Linked DNA regions of Homo sapiens: region 1 is linked to region 2. The links are contacts of gene promoters, found by promoter capture Hi-C in blood cells and fetal thymus (Javierre and others, 2016). All regions are on one chromosome and are shown on one strand. Each heading gives the region's core, a stretch centred on a gene start or on the middle of the fragment in contact. The rest is flanking DNA. Distances are from core to core; before and after follow the strand shown.

What was found. Contacts are between HindIII fragments. The CHiCAGO score rates a contact against its expected background, and 5 or more counts as called.
Region 1: a fragment that was not itself captured here is called in contact with the fragment with the promoter of FMN1 in region 2 in 3 of 17 cell types (M0 macrophages, monocytes and M1 macrophages); the score reaches 6.3 in M0 macrophages.

What each region holds. Positions count from the first base shown.
Region 1 is chr15:32,680,164-32,684,069 of GRCh38, reverse strand. All of the region lies in intron 11 of ARHGAP11A-SCG5 (ARHGAP11A-SCG5 readthrough), which reads right to left. The region is part of intron 3 of SCG5 (secretogranin V); the gene reads right to left. Among named protein-coding and RNA genes, the nearest start is that of SCG5-AS1, 9.1 kb to the right of the region's middle. The HindIII fragment of the contact is 1,313 bases long and covers 867-2,179 here.
Region 2 is chr15:33,192,943-33,196,665 of GRCh38, reverse strand. It overlaps FMN1 (formin 1), which reads left to right and starts at 1,952. Exons shown (of 21, transcript NM_001277313.2): 1 at 1,952-2,088; 2 at 2,606-2,757. It overlaps LOC105370759 (a long non-coding RNA gene), which reads right to left and starts at 1,755. Exons shown (of 3, transcript XR_932090.3): 1 at 1,091-1,755. RefSeq lists silencers at 1,650-1,859, 1,634-1,973. The HindIII fragment of the contact is 5,074 bases long and covers 1-3,723 here.

The DNA of each region.
Region 1 (3,906 bases), core at 274-2,773, 510 kb after region 2:
AGTCTGGGGTGCCGAACCATCCACCGCACTACAGCCTCACGCGCCTCTGGCAGGACTTCACACGGGTGAAAAATAAACTTCTATTGCGTTGAGCCATACAATGTTTTTATTTGTTACAAGAGCAAGTGTTTCCTTAGGTAACATACTTCTGTTGCACATGACCCACTCTGTTTTCTCCTGAGCAAGCAGTTTAGAAACTACTTTGGCTTCTTGGAGAAAGTACATTACACAACAACAACAATCTCCACACAGCACTTGATGTTGTGTTTTATTGTGATAACAGCTTAAGCTTTGGAGTCAGACAAGAGCAGAGCTCAAGGATCAAATCCCAGCTCCTAAGATATAGATAGGCTTAGTTCCTTTGGAAAGTTAACTTGGTCTCTCCAAGTTTGTTCATGTATGTGTGAGATGCAAATAATCAAATACTTACCTACGGGATTGCTGTGAGGAATAGAGATGATTACATTTAGAACACCCGGCACATAATAGGTTTGCAATATGTTTTAGTTCCCTTCCCATTATCTCCCTTTGACTGACAGTTTATACTATGACTGCCCTTTGAAATCAAGCAAGTTTTCCATTGAAACCAAAGAAAGAAGGCTATCTCTCTCAGATGCTGCTTTTATGTAAATTCTATTATTACTAGGCATGATGCTCTAAAAATGAGTCATTTTTCCCATGTCTAATATATTTTAGACAACAGCAATAAAAAGGGGGACAGAGGAGGGATTGTGAATTTTGTGCAGGGTTAGGGGGAAGAAGGAGGGTCTCATTTGAAAGACATAATGAGACATCAAAGTCAATGCTGAAAGGGGGGCCATTTACAATTAGCCAGGTTGTCTAGTTCTTGACACTGCTCTTAAGCTTTCAGTACACAGTCTCTCAGCTCTTAGCAGTATACAGCTAGTGTGGAAGTCATCAGCATTCTGAACAAATCCCTAATGCGGCTCTCCACTTTTCAGTGAGCTATTTATCTAACTTACACAATATATAGCAATTAACATGTAGGAAAATATACCAATTCAAGAGAGTTCAGGCAATCTGCATATGGCACCTTTATAACCTTTCATAATTGTTTCTGGTGTACCTCTGAGTGGGCCCTGACTGAGATGCAGATAAAGCCTGCTCTGGGAACCGAAGGTGTCTCCGGGCTTAAAAATGTGCCCTAGAATTCACATCCTATCTCTGAGGCTGAGATGGACTCTTTGAGCTCTGCTGCTCTATCCAGGGTGAGTGGGCCATGATTCAGAGGACAGCATGGCATGAAAGGAGAAATCAAGGTTTTATTCTTGGATTGCTCAACTGTGCTGTGTTGTGTCATAATTCAAGCAATTCCTCACAAATAATGGCTAAATTTAGCAAGCGATTTCATTCTTGGAATGCAGATTGTGGCAGAACAAAGAATGAGGGAATATGTTAGTTTCATGGAAGAACAGCAAAGGAAATGGCAGACAACCTGTGACAAGAAAGTGTCTGGATTTGGGATTTTGTCCAATTCTACCAGGCCAGCTTGATTGCTGTCCTCTCAGAGCTCCTAAGTGCACAGACTAGAGCTTGATTCCACAGGTCTGTATGATTTTGTGTTTTTATTGTTTTTGTTTTCAGACAAGCTAGAACTACACTGTATGCTCTTTGGAGGCATTGCCTATGTCTTCCTTCCATAGGTGAAGACATTAAGGCTCAAGAAAGTGAAAGTGGCATACTACAGTCAACACTAGAGGTCAGATCTCTTGGCTCAAACTCTGGACCTCTTTCCATTCTCCTATAATATTCTCTAAGTTCAGTGTGCACTAGAACCATGAGGAGGACTGGTTGCAACAAATTCCTGGGTCCCACCCCCAGAATCTTCTGATTCAATAGGTTGAATCAGGGTAGGGACTGAGAAGTTGCATTTTTAGCAAGTTTTCAGGTGCTGCTGCTGCTGGTGGTCCTGGAATCACACTTTAAGAACCACTGCACTGTACCACATCCAATGGACTTAACAATGGAGACTGTCGCTCTCTAAACTCTGAACTAGTCTTTCTTCCTACCCATCCAAAACCCTACAAACAAGTAGAAGGTGGCTGAAATGATTAGAGCCAGGCAGGGATTCAGGTTTTCCTGCCTTCCTGGCCCAGCAGCCACACATTGGCTTGGTCACATCCAACTACTTTGGTTGTTCTGCCTCAAGATGGAAGCTTTGTGCCCCACGGAAAACAGAGGCCTCATCCTAAATGAAAGGAGGAGCATATTTTCTAAGACAGTCTCTTTCAGAGACAGCCTGCATTGTGTTTAAGAAAAGCTGATGTCAGACTAGTTATGGGTATCATAAGAAAAAAAAGTCTCGGTGTGGTAGCTCACACCCATAATCCCAGCACCTTGGAAGGCCAAGGTGGGAGGATCGTTTGAGCTCTGAAGTTTGAGTTTAGCCTGGGCAACATAATGAGACCCCACCTCTACAAAAAATTTAAAAATTAGCTGGGCATGGTGGCACACACCTGTTGTCCCAGCTACTTGGAAGGCTGAGGCACAGAATTACTATAATTGTGCCACTACACTCCCACCTGGGCAACAAAGTAAGACCCTATCTCAAAAAAAAAAAAAAGAAAAAGAAAAAGAAAAAAAGTTGAGTAGTCAATGTTATCACAATTTTCAGAGCAAGGCAGTATGTCCTGGTGGTTGAGTACACAGTCCTTAATCAGGTAGACTTGGGTTTGAGTCTTGGTTCAGCTACTTGTTACCTGGATAACCTTATGCAAGCTACTCTCTAAGCTTCTGTTTTCTTAATATAAAGTAGAAATAATATTAGATTGGTGCAAAAGTATTGCAGTTTTTCCTATTGAAAGCAATAGTAAAAAGTGCAATTACTTTTGCACCAACCTGATAAATACCAACTATTATTATTATTAGGCTTGCAGGAAAAGACTACTCTGGTGCTAGAAGCTAACACAAGCCCAAGGTAAGAGGTGCATTATTTACTAGGGGCAGCAAAGCTAATTATAATCAGGATGACATTTAAAGAGTCCTTACTCTGTGCTAGGTGCTGTGCTAAAATGCTTTACATGGATAATTTTATTTAATTCCCACAATGACCTCCATTTTGCAAATAAGGAAATTGAGGTACGAAGTGGTTAATTAACTTGTTTAAGGTCACACAGGTTGACCTGGAGTTTGAACTCAGGTAGTCAGAGTCTAGAGCCACTACTCTTAACCACCAAGGTCAGCTGCTCAAAGCCGGATGTAAGTGAAGCCCACTCACCATTCTCTATGGCATTAGTGGGTAGGAAAGTGGGTGGGATGCATGAACAACATGGAAAATTTCAACCTTCTTCCTTAACCAGCTTCTTCCTGAACCTCTTCTCTCCCATGCCACCTCCTGGCCCCCAAATAAACAGGATTTTAGGATAGATGCTAACTCGGTGTTGATGCATGACACTGTTAGAATGTTGACTGTCATGATCAACGAGGAGAACAAACAGGCATGGATAATCCACAAACTAACTAGTTCCAAAGACATTAAAACTCAGCAGAAGTTGTATCATGGAAAAGGAAAAAAAAGTGTTTCCCCTTTCATTAAAAGAGTAGCAAGTGCAGGCCGGGCGCAGTGGCTCACGACTGTAATCCCAGCACTTTGGGAGGCCGAGGAGGGTGGATCATGAGGTCAGGAGATTGAGACCATCCTGGCTAACACGCTGAATCCCCGTCTCTACTAAAAATACAAAAAAAAATTAGCCAGGAGTGGTGGCAGGCGCCTGTAGTCCCAGGTACTCGGGAGGCTGAGGCAGGAGAATGGCATGAACCTGGGAGGCGGAGCGTGCAGTGCACCAAGATCACACCACTGCACTCCAGCCTGGGTGACACAGCGAGACTTTGTCTCAAAAAAAAAAAAAAAAAAAGAGTAGCAAGTGCAGAAAAGTGCATCAATTC
Region 2 (3,723 bases), core at 703-3,202:
CTTCCCAACAATAGGAAATCACAGCTCCCTTCTATGAGCAAAGTTGACTTGCAATTGCTCCTAACACATGTCAGAGGTGACACTTCACTCTTAAAGGTGCTTCTGAGGCTGCGGTTTCAAGAAGTCAGTAGTGTGAAAACTGGATCCCTATATGACAATTTTCAGGTAAAAAGAAAAAAGCATCAAGGAATTAAGAGTCGTACTGAGGGCTTCTTATTCTTCTAACTGATGATGATGATTTTTAGACAGGAGATATACGGACCTCGTATTGACTCTACTCCTAACTACGAACATGACCCAAGGACAATTACTTGAACTTTGGGAACCTCAGTTTTCTTATCTATAAGTGGAATTTACAAGGGGAAGATATGAGGATTGAAGGAGATAATGTATATGAAGTGCCTATGGAGCCGGGCACAGCACTTCACAACTGTAATCTCGGCATTTTGGGAGGCTGAGAAGGGAAGATCGCTTGAGCTTAGGAGTTTGAGACCAGCTTGGGCAATATGGTGAAACCCTGTCCCTACAAATAAAAAATTAAAAAATTAGCTGGACATGGTGGTGCCCGCCTGTAGTCCCAGGTACTTTGGAGGCTGAGTTGGGAGGATGGCTTTAGCCCACGGGGTTGAGGCTGCAGTGAGCCAAGATCGCACCACTGCACCCCAGCCTGGGTGACAGAGTGAGACCGTGTGTTAAAAAAACAAATAAATAAAGGGCCTATCAGTGTTTGGCTAATATTGTGATTAAGAATAAATCAGAGTTCCAATAAACTATTATTTCTAGAAAAAAAATAGTGAAAAAAATCACCTTAAAAATACCTTCCAAATTTTTTTCCCATTTACTTATTTGAAAACAGAATCTATTCAGGACAAAATTCTATCTTCAAGTACCAAATGGGTGATACAGTTCGCATTTATCCAAAAGCAGATTAAAGACAATGCCTTTTCTTGCCTACCTACTTGGAAAAGATCTCAGTGTCACTCAAATCACATTCCAAATCTCAACGACATTAAGGCCTCAAATCCTCTTAGGAAAGGTTTGAAGGTAGTTCATTTCAGTAATGATTAGACACTTGGGGACAAAACAGTACCTTGGCATCAAGGTCTGTACTGATTCACCAGCACAGAAATAGCAGTAACAAGATCTTCAACTCTGAGGTGTTCAAATAAGCAGACAAACTCCCTCGTGAGGCCCAGGCCTCTTGACATCCGGACTCAGTCTTTCTTTCTCAGATCGCCAAGGGTCTGGCCCATTTCTCAGCCTAAACCTATTTTGCGTTTAATTCAAACCAGTCAAAGTAACTTAACCGCCAGCAGTTAAAAAGCTACTAGGAGGAAGCGTAGGCAGGAGATGGGAGAGGAAAAGGCTCCTGTCAGGGTTTGGGCTTATGTGTGGATTCTTGAATTCTCCTTCTTTGTTCCTTTTAGCACTTACGATCAAGAACGGCTAGGCTGAGGGGGCAGGGGGGCCAGGCCACTGGAGCGAAACGGCCTCTCCGGATCTGGAGGCGTGGGAACCTCGGGAATAGTGGGGAGTTCCAGACCAGTTCCCTTCCCCCATCTGAACAAGTCCAGAGCGTGCGCCTTGAGAGGCGCTCGGAAACAGGGAAGCTGGGGACACGTAGCGAGAGACTGGTTGTCGCCCTGGCTGTCCGTCTTAGACCTAGCTTAGCGACCACCGCCTTCAATCCCTCAGCCCGGATCAGACGGTGCCAAAAGACAGCACTGCTTCCCAGCCTGGCCCAACGGCTCGGCTGCTGATTGGGCACCGCCGCCTCCCGCCCCGCCTCCCCTGCCACCTCGGGCGCCGCTGCACGTTTCCACTGGTCTTCAGCCCTGCCGATCAGTTTACTGCTCACCTCCCCCAAACAGCTCGTCAGGCCGGCGCGTGCTAGGAAGGCGGGGCCTGTGGCCTGTGGGGCGGAGCCTCGGTGGAGGTCGGCGCAGCTGCCCCTTTGGGCTTTGGCTCTGGACTGGAGCGCAGCATCCTTCGAGGCTGCAGCCGCCACGGCTGTTGCCGTAAGCAATCCTCCTGCCTCAGCCTCCCGAGTAGCTGGGACTCGGGACCAGCCTCCCGAGTATTGGTCAGGTAAAGAGAGTCTTGTCTGTTCTGCTGGCCATCTGCCCGTCTCTTCTTCCCGACCAAAGGCTGCCTGCTCCGCCTTCCCCCGTGGCTTTCAGGGTTCTTGGAATGAGGCATCAAGTCTATTTACCCCGCCAGCTTATCTTCCTCCCCTTCTGTGTCGGTTCCTCCAGCTCCCCCACCAAGCTGCTCCCAAGTACGTTGGTGGGCCCTCCGGGTCATCCCAACGCTCCTCACTACAGAACTCCTGTCGTTGACTCTCAGGTCCCAGCCCCCTTGACCCGCCAGTGCAGTCTCATTCCCAGCTTGGCACAGGAAAGGTGGAGGGCGGGAGGGCGGGAGGGCGGGGGACGGAGAGATGCAGAGCTTTTTTTTTTTTTTTTTTTTTTTTTTGAAGCTGGATGTGTTTAGCGCAGAGGGGGAGCACCACAATGGGATTGCATTGGGAACAGAAGCAGCTTCATGACTATGGTTGGCAATGACTAGAAAGGTATCTGTTGCTGCTTTTTGCTTGTGTTTATAGATGACATTTACCATCACCGTTTTCTTCTTCTTTCATCATCATCATCATCACCATTGCCACTACCACCACCTCCAAGGCCACTACCACCACAGCATCTCTGTTCCTCCATCAGAGCTCTTCAAGTTCTGTAAAGGCAGATTCTCTAAAGGCATGTAAGTGCTGACGGATCCCCCAACCCCCTCCCCCACCACCAAATAACGAACAGTGCTCTTGCCCCCTGAGGCCAGAGCCAAGCCCTCATTTAACTCAAGAACAAGTAGCTGGGAGCAGAGTGTGAGCTGGGAGGATTTTCCTTATCCTCATTTGCAATTGAGATTGCCAAAGAAAACCCTTTATTTTAATCATCCACATTTCTGCTTGCTGTCTCCTGGAGAGTTCCATGTTAGCACTCACACACTCCGAATGGGCTGAATGCAGAGCCTGAACCTGTGATATATATGGGGAGTGGCAGTCACTGAGAGGTGAATGTCCAGACCCAATCCTTTAAGAAGACCAGGTGGAGTAGCAGACAACCTGACTTTCTGCTACAGTAGCTCCAGCTGTACTAAAGCATGTTTACTATTCATGTTTGCATATGGGACATGTGCCATCATCTGCTATGCCCCCTTGCGTGTGTATTGGCAGGGGGGCGGAGGGGCGCATCTAAATTCCTAGGAGAGAGAATTATATTCTGTTCTCTACACCAGGTAGCATCTTATAGGCACACCAATGGGATTCAACAGCCGTTGCTTAGCTGTTTCTAGGGCTTACTGCAAATCTCTTGGATCACAGACTTATTAACCCTTTTTTGGGAGGGAAAACAGTATAGCTGAGAATTGCATACCAGATTAACTGTCGTTGTGGAAGATGTTGCTTCCACAATGAATCAATGAGGTCTCGGGTCTTCTTGATCAGATATCTAAACACTAGTCTCCTTTCTCTCAACTGTGTTACAGTCCAGGAGCAGGACCAATGAATAGTTAGACATATTGCAGGAACAAAGAAGCAATGGCCTCAATGGAGGGAAACAATGGAGAAGAGTAGTGAGACAGTATATTGTAATGGCTAAACTCATAAACCTGTCAGACATAGGTTCAAATCCTGGACCAGCCACTGACTAGCTCAGTGATTTTTGCAAG